2 separate regions of the Homo sapiens genome follow, and region 2 is linked to region 1. Evidence: promoter capture Hi-C in 16 types of primary human blood cells and fetal thymus (Javierre and others, 2016). All regions are on one chromosome and are shown on one strand. The core of a region is centred on a gene start or on the middle of the fragment in contact, and the rest is flanking DNA. Distances in the headings are between cores, read along the strand shown. Region 1 holds the start of ZNHIT6 (zinc finger HIT-type containing 6). Region 2 holds the start of SSX2IP (SSX family member 2 interacting protein).

Evidence for each region. Contacts are between HindIII fragments. The CHiCAGO score rates a contact against its expected background, and 5 or more counts as called.
Region 2: a contact is called between the fragment with the promoter of SSX2IP here and the fragment with the promoter of ZNHIT6 in region 1, in 2 of 17 cell types (naive CD4 T cells and non-activated CD4 T cells). The highest score is 7.5, in naive CD4 T cells.

The regions. Positions count from the first base shown.
Region 1 is chr1:85,707,183-85,715,148 of GRCh38, forward strand. It overlaps ZNHIT6 (zinc finger HIT-type containing 6), which reads right to left and starts at 1,251. Exons shown (of 10, transcript NM_017953.4): 1 at 447-1,251. The coding sequence starts at 1,102. RefSeq lists enhancers at 508-1,341, 1,044-1,403, 1,342-2,174. The HindIII fragment of the contact is 1,595 bases long and covers 23-1,617 here.
Region 2 is chr1:84,686,378-84,694,343 of GRCh38, forward strand. It overlaps SSX2IP (SSX family member 2 interacting protein), which reads right to left and starts at 4,084. Exons shown (of 14, transcript NM_001166293.2): 1 at 3,994-4,084. RefSeq lists a silencer at 3,536-4,295. The HindIII fragment of the contact is 1,864 bases long and covers 2,693-4,556 here.

The DNA of each region.
Region 1 (7,966 bases), core at 1-2,500:
ATATTCACAGCACCCATGAAGAAGCTTGATAATTGAGGTCAAGTGTATTTTTGCCTAGTTTTAACTTAATCTACTTTGTCATTGTTAGTTTTATTAGACTTTCTCATCTCTATTCTCTCTCAAAGGAATACCGAGTAAAGAGCATATTAAGTCAAGCCAGATCCAGTTCCAACTGATCTTTTGGTCCCCAGAATTTCCACTTTCCTAACTTGACCATTACCCATTGGACACTACTAATTTCATGTATTTTCACTGAATTTGTTGTGTTGTCATGTACAACACCCTCCACTTCCCAACCCACCCCCGCGAACGCCGTCTGACTCCAGAAACCCAAACTTGTGCTCATTTTTCATTATTCCACCTTCTCCTGATAGTGTGGTTTCCTTCACTCTAGACATGAGGACTCCACAGCTTTATTCCCCTAAATGGAATCCCCCATGCCCTACCTTGACATGGCCAGTTTCCGCTTGCAGCCCACCGGGTGATTTATCGGAGGCTCTTCTTTCACCTTTGTATCATCCACGATTTCTTTCTTCAGGAAATCCTTCTCTTCTTTTACACACTCTCCATGCATCAATTCCTCTTTTATGCATTGACCAACAAACTTCTCCTCCTGTTTTATCTCCAAGTTATCCTTCTCTTCCTTCACTTCTGACCAGTCCATTACCTCTTCCTTTACCTTCTCTTCCTTTACCTCTGGTTCACCCACCTTCGCTTCTTTTACCACTAAACTACTATCCGTCTCCTGCTTCACCTCCAATACGCCTGCGTTCTCATCCTTCACCTCAGGCCTATCCTCCACCTCCTGTTCTACCCACTGGCCAGCCAACCTGCCTTCTGTACCTGGCCAGTCTATAATTTCCTGCTTCACTACCGTTAGGTCCATCGGTATTTCCTCTGGCCTTTGTCCACTTCCTTCCTCTCCATCCCCTATCTCCTTTATCCCTGTCAGCCCTGTCCCCTCCTCTCCGCCGCCGAACTCCTCCGCCCCTGCTAAGTCCCTTACTCCCTCCCTGCCAGGCTCTGGACTTAGCCGCACCCCCTCAGCTACGCTGTGGAGACCTCCCCCAGACTTCCCTTCATTTTCAGCAGCAAACTCCATCAACTCACGATCCTTGGCCTCTGCTGCCACTCTATCCTTCAATGTGGCTGCTGCACACCAATAGGAGGAATTACCGGTCGGAATACCTACGGCGGCCCACGTGTGGAGCCAAGCAGCCACAAACCCGGAATAGCCTGCTTGACGCGACTGCTCGAATCGCCGTAAAGCTACGCTTTTGCGCCTCGCCCCTTCACGACTTGTAGAGCTCTTTACGGCTCTGCGGAGGCCCTGCCGGATTCTCTGGGCGAACAAGCGTAACTGCGTGACTTGCCCGCTGGGGTTCTCGTCTCCTTCCTGGTTTCCACCACCCTCTTCCCTTAGAGAAGCCTCCTGGGCCACTCCCTGGGCCACCCTCCACGCCCTGCTGGGTGTAAAGAGTGTAGGAGACCGGCAGAGGGAGAGAAGCGAAACCCTTACACTCTGGAAGTGGGAAAACCCACCCTAATCTGTGTTAACCATTAAATCCAATCTTGCATGAAAATGGAGGACACACCTGATGTTATTAGGCCTTTCCAAGCTTTAGTTTCTTAAAGCTATAAACTAGGGACCATGGTATTATTAATATAAATCTCCCAGTGTCATTGCAAAGATTATATGAGATCATGCATGGAAATCAACTAGCAGTGACGGACACAAACTCGATATATAACTGGGAATCCTGATGGGCTTCAAACCGCCTGGTTTCCACCACCCCCTTCCCTTAGGGAAGCCTCCTGGGCCACACCCTAGGCCACCCTCCACGCCCTACTGGGTGTAAACAGTGGAGGAGACCGGCAGAGGGAGAGAAGCGAAACCCTTACACTCTGGAAATGGGAAAACCCACCCTTATCTGTGTTAACCATTAAATCCAATCTTGTATGAAAAAGGACACACCTGATGTTACACCTTTGCAAGCTTTAGTTTCTTGAAGCTATAAACTAGGGAGCATGGTATTATTAATATAAATCTCCCAGTGTCATTGCGAAGATAATATGAGATCATGCATAGGAATCAACTGTCAGTGACAGACACAAACTCAGTGTATAACTGGGAATCATGATGGGTTTCAAGTAGGAAAGAGGGCATTAATTTTTCTTTCCATTCTTTCTAAGTAACAGCCTGCGTCAGGCTATTCCCCATTCCCAGCATTCTGCAGGATTCTCTCAGAGAACATCATAAATATATTAGGCGAAAGTGCCTAATGCCCGGTATTGCTGAATAACATTGCATTGTATGAATGTGGCACGTTTTTTCATGCATGTACCAGTTGGTGGGCATTTGGCTTGTTTCCAGTTTGGGCTATTACGAATAATTCTGCTTCCACATTCATATGCAAGTCTTTGTGTGGACATGTTTACATTTCCCGTTAAGTAAATAACTAGGAGTGGAATTGCTGGGCCATATAAATTTATGTTAATTTTTAAAGAAATGCCCAAACTGTTTTCCAAAGTAGCTATACCATTTTACATTCCTACTGGCTGAGGGTTCCTATTTCTCTACATCCCGGCCAATTCTTAGTATTATCAGTTATTTGATTATAGATGTGTAGGGGTACGTCATTGAGAATTTACATTTCTTTAATGACTAATGATGTTGAACATCTTTTCATCTGCCAACTGGCCATTTGGATATTTTCTTTAATGAAATGTTTATTCAGATCTTTTGCCCATTTTTAATTGACGTCTTTTATTATCAAATTGTAGTAGTTCTTCATATATTATGGATATAGGTTTGTGGTAGACAAGCACCAGTATGTTCCCCAGTGATTCTCCACCCCCACAGTGTTCAGACCAATGTGTAGACTGCTCCTGCATCATCCCAGGATTGGTCTGTGTCACTGATAGCATACAGCAGAAGTAATACGTTACCTCTAAGATTAGGTTTGGAGAAAGGCTGTGGTTTCTGCCTTAGGCTCTTGCTTTTTTGGTCTCCTTCCTAGATCATTCACTCTGGGGGAAGCAAGCTGCCAGGTTGTGAGTACCAAGAGGCCCATGTGGTAGTGGGCCGAAGTTACTGGCTCTTACAGGCTGAATTGTGTCCCCTCAAATTCGTGTGTTAAATCCGTAACACCCAGTACCTTAGACTGTGAGTATATTTGGAGATAGGACCTTTAAAGGTGATTTCGTTAAAATGAGACCATTAAGGTCGGCCCTAATCCAATCTGACTGATATCTTTATAAGAAGAGGAAATTTGGACACAAAAAGAGACACGAGGGATGCCTGCAGAGAGAAAAGACTATACGATGATACAGTGAGGTGGCCACCTGCATGCCAGCGAGAGAGGCCTCAGAAAAAAACAAGACTGGTGACAACTTATTTTGGAGTTCTAGCGTCTAGAACTGTGAGAAAATAAATTTAAGTCACTCAGTCTATGCTAGTTCATTATAGTGGCCTTGGCAAACGAATGCACTGGCCAACAATCAGCAAGGAATTTCAGCCTGTCAATAGCATATGAATGTGTTTGGAGGAAGATTCTCTAGTCTTAGTCCAGCTTTACATGACTGCGGCTCTGGCCAACAACTGAACCCAGATTCCGGACACTCAGAAATTGTGGGAGGGGATAAATGTTTCTTGTTTTAAACTGCCAAATTTCTGGATAATTGATACAAAGCAATGCATAATTAATACCAATTCCTTGTATGGTTCGCAAATATTTTCTCCCAGTTTGTGGCTTTTCCTTTTCTTAGTTGTATCTTTAAAAGAGCAAAAATTTTACACTTCAATTAAATCCAGTTTATCAATTTTTATTTTTATTTTTTGTGATGGAGTCTCGCTCTTGTCACCCAGGCTGGAGTGCAATGGCGGGATCTCTGCTCACTGCAACCTCCGCCTTCTGGGTTCAAGTGATTCTCCTGCCTCAGCCTCCCGAGTAGCTGGGACTACAGGCAGGTGCCACCACACCTGACTAATTATTTTTGTATTTTTATTAGAGATGGAGTTTCACCATGTTGGCCAGGCTGGTCTCGAACTCCTGACCTCAGGTAATCCACCCACCTCCCAAAGTGCTGGGATTACAGGAGTGAGCCACTGCACCCAGCCTCTCAATTTTTAAATGAATGGTGCTTTTTGTGTCACACTAATAACTTTTTGCCTAGCCCAAGGTTGCAAAGAGATATTTCTCCTATATTTTCTAGAAGTTTTATAGTTTTAGCTTTTACATTTAGGTCTGTGATCCATTTTGAGTTGGCTTTTGTATCTAGAGTCATCCCTCTGTTTCTGTGGGGATTGGTTCCAGGACCACCACAGATCTGAGAACGCTCAAGTCCTACAATCTGCCATCTGCATCCATGGTTCCACATCTGTAGGTTCCACCAGCTGTGGAAATTTGATCCATGGTTGGTGGAACCCACATGTGGCAGAACTAAGGATATCATCCATAAGGTGGACAAGGTAATGGTTTAAGTTTCTTTTTTTTAATATGGATATCTTATTGTCCAAGCACCAGTTGTTGAAGCCTATTCTTTTTCCTTGAATTGCCTTGATATTTAAAAAAATCAATTGACCACAAAGATAAAGATTTATTTCTGGACCTTATATTCTGTTTTACTGATCTATATGTCTATCCTTACACAAATACCATACTCTATTATAACTTTATAGTAAGTCCAACTTTCTTTTCTTTTGAAAATTGTGTTGGCTATTCTTGGTTGTTTGCATCTCTGTGTATTTAGTGCCAGCTTGTCAATTTCTACAAAAGAACTTGTGGGATTTTCATAGGGATTGTGTGGAATATATAGATAAGTGAGGGGAGGATTGTCATCTTAACAACATTGTGTCTTATCCATGAAAACGGAATGCCATCCATTTATTTATATTGTCTTTAACTTCACTTAACAATGCTTTGTAGTTTTCAGTGTACAAGTTTTTACATATCTTTTGCTAAATTTATTCCTAAGCATTTTATTCTTGATGTGGTTTTTGTTTTTTTTTAAATTGACACAGGGTCTCCCTCTGTCACCCAGGCTGGAGTACAGTGGCAAAATCATGGCTCACTGCAGCCTCGACCTCCTGAGTTGAAGCTATTCTCCCACCTCAACCTCCCAAGTAGCTGGGACCACAGGCGCATGCCACCATGCCCAGCTAAATTTTTTTTGGTATTTTTTGTAGAGATGGGGTTTTGCCATGTTGCCCAGGATGGTCTCAAACTCCTGGGCTCAAGGGATCCGCCCACCTCAGCTTCTCAAAGTGCTGAAATTACAGGCGTGAGCCACCACACCTGGCCTTGATGTGATTTTGAATGAAATTACTCATTTAATTTCATTTTGGATTTTTCATTGCTAGGTTGCAGAAATACAATTGATTTTTGTATTTTGATTTCATATCCTGCAACCTTAATAAACTCAAATGTTTTATAATATCTCTATATAATTGTATTCAATTAACTTACATTTTGTTTAGGAGTTTTCGTCTATGAAGGATGTTTATTTATCTGTAGTTCTTTTTTCTTGTAATGTTAGGTTTTGTTATCAGAGTTTTCTGCATACCTTTTAACTTTTATGTTTCCCATCTCTTTATTGCTTCCAGATACTTTCTGGGAGAGTTCCCCAAGTAATTTCTACCTTACTATTTTGGTATTTGATGGTATGCAATCTGTTAGTCAACCTATCCACTAAGCTCATTTCAGTCACTATGTTTTTCATAACCATTGTCTGTAGCTTATTTTGCTTCATATTTCTAATATCCCTTTTTATCTCTCTGAAGGTAGTCCTTTAACTCGTTTTATTTATTTATTTTTTTGAGATGGAGTCTCGCTCTGGTTGTCCAGTCTGGAGGGCAATGGTGCTATCTTGGCTCACTGCAACCTCCGCCTCCCAGGTTCAAGTGATTCTCCTGCCTCAGCCTCCCCAGTAGCTGGGATTACAGGTGCCCACCACCATACCCAGATAATTTTTGTATTTTTAGTAGAGACAGGGTTTTGCCATATTAGCCAGGCTGGTGTTGAACTCCTGACCTCAGGTGATCCACCCACCTTGGCCTCCCAAAGTGCTGGGATTACAGGCGTGAGCCACCATGCCCGACTTTTGACTCTTTTAAAAATCTTCAGTTTTTTGTCCATTAATTCTGTCCCTCCAGTATAAATTATCCAGCTTAAAAAAATCTTTTAGAATTACAGTCCAGATTTTATAATATTTTCTCTGGTGAGCTCCTATTCCTTTGAGAGTATTAGCAAGCATAGTTGTAATTCATATTTGAAAGGTAGGATCAAAAGCATAGGATTTGGATTGCAACTCTTCTGGTTATTCTTTTCAGTGTGGAGGGTAAGCAGAAGAGTGGATGAGCATCATGGTAGAAAGCCTCTGGTGTTACAATCTGGGCTGCACTAGCCCCAGTCTGCCCTCCTATGAAGAGCATACGCCTCTCAGGTTAACTTCCAGTACTCCCACATTGCCATCCCATTTCCAAGAGCTGCTGTCTTCTGGGTAATCATCTAGACTTTTGGGTGGAGGGAAGAAGACAACTGTTCTAAACCAACTGGTATACACAGTTATCAGCTTTCCTGGTGTTCTTCTGCCTCCTTGGACACTTGCTGGGCTAACTTTGTGTTTTTATAAGCATCTTGAGTTGAGGTGGGCCACGATCCACCCAAGCTAATGTAGGGTAGAAAAGGGAACAATCAGAGATTCTATCCTTTCATCCACCCTCTACCTCCATTAGTGTCCCTCTTTGTCCCTCCAGGCTTTCCTTTCTCCACCACAATGGACCCAACTCCCTTTCACCTCCTAAGGGTTTTCAGAGTTTCCTAGTTAGGCTCATTATTTATCCCCTCCCCCCCATATATGTGGCATCTTCAGGAATGGATTTGGAGACTCCAGGAGACAATAGCTTTGTTAGTTTGCTATCTTTTCAGAAACAAGAAGTTACCAGATTGAACTTTTTATTTAGCAATACTGTATGGTAAAGAATTTGTGAAATTATTTGAGGGATATCCCAAATATCCTTTCTTCTGGGCTTCCCATGACACTGCTATCGGGGGAACCAGCCCCCAATATTTCAATGTAGGTTCTTTTCTATTTTCCCTAAGTGTTGGCAGGTCTGAGAAATAAAGAGAAAGAGTGCAAAAGAGAGAAATTTTATAGCTGGGTCTCCAGGGGTGACATCACCTGTCAGCAGGTTCTGTGATGCCCCCAAGCTGCAAAACCAGCAACTTTTTATTGGCGATTTTCAAAGGGGAGGGAGTGTACGAATAGGGTGTGGGTCACAGAGATCACATGCTTCAAAAGGCAATAAAATATCACAAGGCAATTGGGGGCAGAGCAAGATCACAAGGCCAGAGCGAAATTAGAATTGCTGATGAGGTTTCATTTCCCACTGTGCATGCATCGTCACTGATAAACATCTTAACAGGAAACAGGGTTTGAGAGTAGACAACCCTTCTGACTAGAATTCATCAGGCCAGAATTTCCTAATCCTAGCAAGCCTAAGGGCGCTGCAGGAGACCAGGGCGTATTTTATCCCTTATCTTCAACTGCATAAGACGGACACTCCCAGAGCAGCCATTTTAGAGGCCTCCCCCTGGGAATGCATTCTTTTCCCAGGGCTGTTCCTTGCTGAGAAAAATAATTCAGCAATATTTCTCCTATTCGCTTTTGCAAGAAGAGAAATATGACTCTGTTCTGCCCGGCCCTGCAGGCAGTCAGACCTTACGGTTAGCTCCCTTGTTCCCTGAAAATCGCTGTTATCCTGTTCTTTTAGGACGCACAGATTTCATATTGTTCAAACACACATGTTTTACAAACAATTTGTACAGGTAACACAATCATCACAGGGTCCTGAGGCGACGTACATTCTCAGCTTATGGAGATGATGGGATTAAGAGATTAAAGTAAAGACAGGCATAGGAAATTATAAAAGTATTAATTTGGGGAACTAATAAATGTCCATGAA
Region 2 (7,966 bases), core at 2,834-5,333, 1.0 Mb before region 1:
TACTCTCTCACATAAAAACCTGTCTTTGGCACTTGACAGATAATAGTGTCATTTAGATAAAGGGAACAGAGGAGTAAAGTTAGTAAAACTGGGTTTGGGCAAATGTGTGGAGATAATGAGCTTTGTGTAGCTTACTGGGTTTGGAGATGCCCTTATGAGACATTCACATGGGGATAAACTCTAGGCCTAGAACTCACAAGACATCCGAGCACATTTAGATAGATGAATTCATAAAGAAAAAAGGGGCAGGAGAACAAACCCCAAAGAACATCAACATAAGCGAGTGAAGCAGACCCAGACACAAGAGATACAAAGAGACAGGGGAACGGACTTCAGGAAAGCCAAGGGAGAAGACTTTTAAAGAGAAAGGGTGATACACAGCAGCAAATGCCATAGAATGGGCAGGTTTTGAATTTTAAAAAGTGTTGAATTCGGTGATTAGTGACTTAATGACAAAGCTGAGGGGTAAAAATGAAAATCAGACTTCAGAAAGATGATCACCAAATAAGAAAAGGAAAATCACTTGTTCAAGAATCTCAGTTTAAAAGAATGTTAGTTTCTCTGAATGTAGAGGCTTTATTAGACGCTCATGGATAGATCTAGCATGACAAAAAAAAAATCCTGTCTTTAAAGTCTGTTCTTACTCAATTACAGCATTTTTATATCAAGTAGAAATATTAAGTGCTCAGTAAGTATGAGCTATTTTTCCAGGCATTGTTCTGGATACTAACCTATTTTTCTAATCACACCCCTACGAAGCAGGTATTGTTATTATCCTTCATAAATGCGACAACCAGGGCACAAGATCACATAGCTAGTAGTGTGGTAGATCAAACCGAAAATGTGACTCAAGAGAATATGAGAAAAGGATATGTGTGAAGCAAGAGTTAAAAGATGAGAACAACTGGAGTTAAGATTGTTCTGAATGTTTAACTGCTTGTAGTTTCATTTCTATTTAAAAACTTATTTTTGCTAATTTGAAAGACTATTTCTTCTCTCATCTCAGAATCCTACATTGCTAGAGTCTGACATTTTTATGTCTGACACCCAGATTCTGTACTGCATTATAACTGTGTTATTTCTCCTACTGAACTGCAGGTTGCTTGAAAATGGGGAAGTATCTTATTTAATTTGTATCCCTATTCTTCCAGTCTTCAAAGTAGAAGATACTTAAGAAAGGTTTGTTGTATAATTATTTCTGCTTTTCTGGAGTTTCTGAGGGCTTCAGCAAAATATACTTCAAGTCTAACTGCTGTGTGGGACTGTCTTTCAGATATTATTTGCACTATACTCAATACATTTTGGATCACTCAAATTACTGATTTTGGTGGAAATATCCTTCTAAAGTAAAAATAAAATATAATTCCCCTTCATAAAACCTTCTGAAGGTTCCCTGTAACCTACTGGTCAATGTTCACAGCACTGTTCTACAGCCTTATTAATATGGCAACCCCACCCTGGTCCAACTCTACCAAGCCACCTGTAACTCAACTGTACACTGCTGCAGAATGCACCAGCTGCTTGATGAACTCCACTGCCTCTACCAGACACAGCTGAAATTCTCCTTCTTTTTGAAAGCCTTCCTATATTTGTTTTTTGTGAGGTTTTTTTGCTTCCTGCCTCACTATGCTGATAATTTCTAAAATACAAATTCCTCAAGGCAACACTCATCTTTTTATCCTCAGGTCAGGCAAGTAGCAGCTTACTAAGCGTTTAATGAATGTTTATTGAAAGAATTACTAAAGAATAATTCAGTAAATCTGCTGGTACTACATAAAACATTGGCCCACAATCAAAAGGCACAATTCTAGGATGTTTTTCATTACTACTAATGAATGGTGCATTTCTCTATTCTATCTCATCCCATAAACTCGTGAATTCAAGATAACTTGTACCTTCACTACTAGCTAACCATATCACCATTACCAAAGCCACAAAACAAACCCACATCGTATCAAAACCTCTTTGCGTCATGAGCAAATGGTGAAACCAGTAAGGCATATTCACAGCTATTGTAAAAGATATGGAAAAAATAACTTAAAAATCTTTGAAATCGATCCAATTTAAGCATGTTAAATGAATTAAAATCACACAATTTGGGGGCGGTGTCTTTTCATGCACCTAATTTCTCTAGGGGTATACTACATAAAAGGCACTCAAACGCCTACTTTATAAAACCGGTGTCACGGCCTGCTTTGGCCAAAAAGCAGACTGTCAAGTACTAGGAGATCCCAAGTATACAATTGGACACTGTGCTGGACTTGAGGTCTTTAGCAAACAATTTCAGCGTAACATTTTAGTTTTCTCATATATCTGCCTCATTATGTTTAGAACATAATGTGCTTTAACAAGTCTTGTCACAAGGCACAATGTGTTATGAGATCTCCACATTTCATCCTAGAATAACTAAGTCTTCACAGTTATCTTCAAGCTGCCTCACCCATGTTACGTAATCCATGAGCTTTTTATCTTCCCTGTACAGTTGGGGAAAGAGAAGGGAAGGAAGAGTACAAAATGACTTGGCCTAAGAGGTTCAGCCAGTCACTAAAAGAGCCTTCGTTTTAATTATCAGTTCCTAACCCTCTTCTCAAAGAACCGTTTTGTTTGAGAAACCTTCATTAACAGCAGGCAGAACAGAGTGTTAAATTAGCTATTAGCTTTCCTTACTTGTTTAGTGTGAATGAATAACCTAAGCTTCCTAAGCCTGTAGGTTGATAGTTTTAGGATAAGAGATCTGATGGATCAAGTTTTGCCGACTGGATCCAAATTCATAAATCTACCTCTAACTTCTAAATTTCAAAATAGCTTGACGTGAACTTTAAAGGCATTTCTTTCCTCTCCAAATTTCTAATTCTTTACAAATTTTATTCACTCTCCTAAATGAGTCAACTCATACCAACCTTTCTAGTTCAGGATCAAACTGTAGGATCACCAGAATTTTCTTCTACCCCACAGTAAGCCAAACCCCCATGAACCATGAAAAGGTCCATGACATCCATCACCCACAGCTAACTCTACACCTTGACTCTAATCTGAATTGTTAGAAAGCCCAGGAAGTTCAAGAAGCCTCCACCCTTACACTTCTAAATCACCTTCTTTTCTAATCCTCAACCTATTACAGCGTCCAGAAAAGAGAAATCTCAATTCTCTCAGATTCAAGAACTTTATCAGCGTTGCTAGTAATCGCAGTTTGGCATTTACAACTATGGGTCCTGAAACTGGGTAATAATCTAAAAATTCCTACATTATACGTGCAGACAGCAAATTAGTATATTCTATGTCCTGGGCCCAAGCGATATGCCTAACTGGGCAATCAGCATAGGCTCAAAAAATGTGCAGGGAGCTCACAATTCAGTTTACTGTCGTTGACTATAAAATTCTAAACCAAAGTATTTTCATGATAAAATTATAAACCAAAGTATTTTCACACATGCCTGCCTCTTGGATGATGTAAATTCTTCCCCTAGACTTTTTACTAGACCACTATCGGGGTTCTCTTCCACTGCAGCGGCCACCCAATAACTCGTTTTAAAGACTGCCTCTTGCGGCTGCACTAGCAAATCGCCAAACCCCGCATGCCCCACGGCCGCTGCTGAGACTCTGCAGCCCCAAATCGGCCATCCCCTCCTCCCCCACGTCCCCGCGCTGCTCGTCCCCCAACGCCGGGCGCCAACCTTGCTCCATCCCAGAGAGGGTTTGGGGCTCCCCGGGTCAGAGCGCTCCGCAGGCGCAGCTCCGCGAACGCCAGCGAGAGCGGTCCCGGGGCCAGCACCTACCTCCCACCTCCTCCTCCAGGAGCGGCCCGGGTCGACGCTCGCCCGCACCCTGCAACGGCCCCAACAGCCGCGCGGAGCCTCCCGCCGAACAACGGGGCGCTGAGCCAGGTGCCGGCTCTCACCTCCGCGCGCGCCCGCCCCTTGCCGGCGCCCACCCCCGCCCGCCCCTCCCTGGCGGGGCGCGTCACAATCCCCGACGCGAGGCGCTGCTGCTCACCGTCACGGCCCCCGGGAGCGGCGGGGAGTCACCGCTCGGCGTCCTAGCCCGGCTCCCGCAGCCCGAGGGCCAGCAGCGCCTCGCAGCGCCTCCCGCCCGCGGCCCCTCCTCCGCTGCGGGCTCCCGCCTTCCCCGCCCCTTGCAGCCGCCTCCCGGCCTCCGCAGGTTTCCGAGGTTCCCACCCCGCCCCCGCGCGCCGGCGCCGCAGGCCCCGCCGCCTCCCATTGGCTCCGCCAGTTGCTAGGCGATGAACAACCGTGGCCTGCATTGGTCGGGTGGGGGCCTCGGTAGTCTCCTCCTTACCTCCAAAAAAACCCGGAGAAAAAGAAGACCTTATCCCTGCGGTCCGCGCGCGCTGCGGGCGCAGCTGCGGCTGCGGCACCTGTTACGCCCAGTGATTCACCCGGCCGTTTTCTGCTCCCCGCCCCCTTCTGACGCCTGCAGCGTCCGGGGCCGGGGCTCTGTGGGGGCCGGGACTCTGCAGGGACCGGGGTCGTGGCTACTTTAGAGCACGTTTTCCGAGCCCCACTGAACCCCAACACCCAGCCTAGCAGCAAAAGTGAAGCTTCCAGGAGAGCCACGTGCGTTTGCCAAAGTGGAGAAATAAACTGCGGGCACCTAGAATTAGGTCAGGTCCAAGGAACGGGAGGTTCAAGCGTCGGGAGTCGTGGATGCAAACAATCCAGCCGGGAGAAAGTTATATGTAAAATTAGGGCGAAGAAATGGATCTGGGCAGAAGACCGCGGGCAAAGGAAAGACTAAGAAATAGCATTCGTGAACTCAGTTTATGCAAAAATGTCTTACACCCACTCGACAAAGTATGTGCGATGAAAATGTATGCCTGCTGCACCCGTGGCCAGGGTCAGGCTGTCTCCTCCCTGGTTTCATGGCAGCCTAAAATTCACTGGGGAAGAAAAGAAAAGAGGCCAGAGAAAGGAGATCAGATGGAGAAATCACAGGCATATAGGTTACACAAAGATGTTCTTTGATTTTTGTTTTGTTTAGTTTTGGTGAAGCCAAGGGATTTATTCAAAAGGCGAAAAACAGGTTTGGTGTTTTAAGGAGACTCCTGAGAGCACTTTGAAACCAAAACAGTATGAGTGAAGATGCTAACACTGAAAAACAAGAGCGGGAGGAATGTCCACCTCCCAGTTTGCATGCACGTATCCCCAATCCTGGATGAAAGATCAGGGCCAGAAGAAGCACGCCACGGTGACAACTTCAGGGCCCAACGAAATCCTCCTCTTTTCCTTTGGCCAAGCAATCAGAGGCCCGTCTAGCTGCTGTTGAGCCCAGGTGGCGTTACCATTAACAGTTACATTTTTAAAAGGTTTGAACCAAGCTTAGTTGAGCTCTGGGAAGTTTAGCTCTGACCTCAGCAACCCCGGGAAAGGAATAAGATCTGCCTGAATAAACCAGCGGTCTCAATCTTTTGGTCTCAAGACCGCTTTCCACTTGTAAAATTATTGAGAGCCCCAAGAACTTTTCTTTATGTTGGTTACAGCTATTAATATTAAAACAGAAATTTAAAAATTGCTATTTTTTAAAATAATAATGAATAAAAATAAAAATGTCAAATAGCGCATTTTAATTAAAAATAACTATTTTCAAAAAATTAGTTAAAAGAATGGTGTTACTTTAAAATTTTGCCCATATCTTTAATGTCTTGCTTAATAGAAGGCATTTGGATTTTCATATCTGTTTGTGCATTCGATCTGTTGTGCTATTTCAGGTAGCGTCTGGAAAACTCTACTGTGCACTCATAATGAGAGGGAAAAAGGCAAATAATATCTTAGTATTATAACAAAAATAGTTTTGACTTTGCAGACTCCCTGGAAGGGTCTTGGAAACTTGCCGCCCCAAGGTTCAGCAGATCTTTGAAAACCACTGGTCTAAACCTCTTTGTACTCTGTCCCTCTTTGTTAACCAATAACTGGTTAAGGGGCTAAAAATATGACCTAATTCTGCTCAGTCCATAATGGGGAGTGGGGGATGAGGAGCTTCAGGGGAAGGATTTTATCCTGACAGACTAAGGACAAGTTTTTTCCTTCTTGCCTTGGACATCCTCCAGTAAGCCAGACATGTTTGGAGCTGTGGCAGCATATTCTGCAACCACGAGAGAAAAGCAAGAAAAATACATGCGTACCTCGTTTTATACTTCAATTTATTGCACTTTACAGGCACTGTATTTTTTTTTAATAAAGGTTTGTTGCTCAACCCTGCATTGAGCAAGTCTAGTGGCACCATTTTTTCTAAGAGCATGTGTTCACTTGGTGTCTCTGTCACATTTCGGTAATTTTTGAAATATTTCAGACTTTTCCATTAAATATGTTACGGTGATCTGTGATGTCACTATTGTATTATTTTGGGGGTGCCGCAAACTGCACCCTTATAAGACAGCCAATTCAATGTATATGTTGACTGCTCCACTGACTGGCTGATCATCTCTCTCCCTCTCCTTGGGCCTCCCTACTCCCTAAGACACAGCAATATTAAAATTAGGCCAATAAATAACCCTACAATGGCCTCTAAGTGTTCAAATGAAGGGAAGAGTCACATATCTCTCACTTTAAATCAAACGCTAGAAATGATTAAGCTTAGTGAGGAAGGCATCTTGAAAGCTGAGATAGGCAGAAAGCTAGACCTATTGTTCCAGTTAGCCAAGTTATAAATGCACAGAAAAAGTTCTTGAAGGAAATTAAAAGTCCTCCTCCCTTGAACACAGGCATGAAAAGAAAGTGAAACTGCCTTATTGCTGATAAGTAGAAAGTTTGAGTGGTCTGGATAAGAGATCAAACCAGCCACAGCATTCCTTTAAGCAAAAGCCTATCCAGAGCAAGGCCCTAATTCTTCATTTCTATGAAGGCTGAGAGAAATGAGGAAGCTTCATTTAAAAAGTTTGAGGCTAGCAGAGTTTGGTTCATGAGGTTTAAGGAAAGAAGCCATCTCCGTCACATGAAAGTGCCAAGTGAAGCAGCAAGTGCCGCTGTAGAAGCTGCAGCAATTTATCTAGAAGATCTGATTGATGAAGGTGGCTACACTAAACAGATTTTCAGTGTAGACCAAAAGAAAGCCTTCTATTAGAAGAATATGCCACATAGAACTTTTCTAGCTAAAGAGGAGAAGTCCCTGCCTGGCTTCAAAGGACAGGCTGACTCTTGTTAGGGGCTAATGCAACTGCTGACTTTTTATTTTTATTTTTTATTTTTTGACACAGGGTCTCAATGTGTTGCTCAGGCTGAAGTGCAGTGGTGCGATCACGGCTCACTGCAGCCTCAAGTGATCCTCAAGCAATCCTCCCACCTTAGCCTCCCAAGTAGCTGGGGCTACAGGCACACACCACCATGCCCAGCTAATTTTTGTATTTTTTGTAGAGACAGGGTTTTACCATGTTGCCCAGGCTGGTCTCAAACTCCTGAGCTCAAATGCTCCACCTCCCTCAGCCTCCCAAAGTGCTGTAAGCCACTATGCCCGGCTCCAGCTACTGACTTTAAGTTGGAGGTAATGCTCATTTGCCATTCCAAAGATCCTAGGGCCCTTAAGAAATATCTAAATTGACTTTGCCTGTGTTCTATCAATGGAACAACAAGGCCTGGCTGACAGCACATCTGTTCACAGCATGGTTAGTGAATATTTTAAGTCCACTGTTGAGACCTATGACTCAGAAAAAAAGATTACTTTCAAAATCTCACTGCTCATTAATAATGCACCTGGTTACCCAAGAGCTTTGCCTGCTAACACAAGATCTATTCTGCAGCCCATGGATAAAGGAGTAATTTTGGCTTTTAAGTCTTATTTGAGAAATACATTTCATAAGGCTGTATCTTCCATAGATAGTGATTCCTCTGATGGAACTGGGCAAAGTAAATTGAAAACCTGGAAAGGATTCACCATTCTAGATGCCATTGAGAACATTCATGGGCACGGAAGGAGGTCAAAATATATCAACATTAAGAGGAGTTTGGAAGAAGTT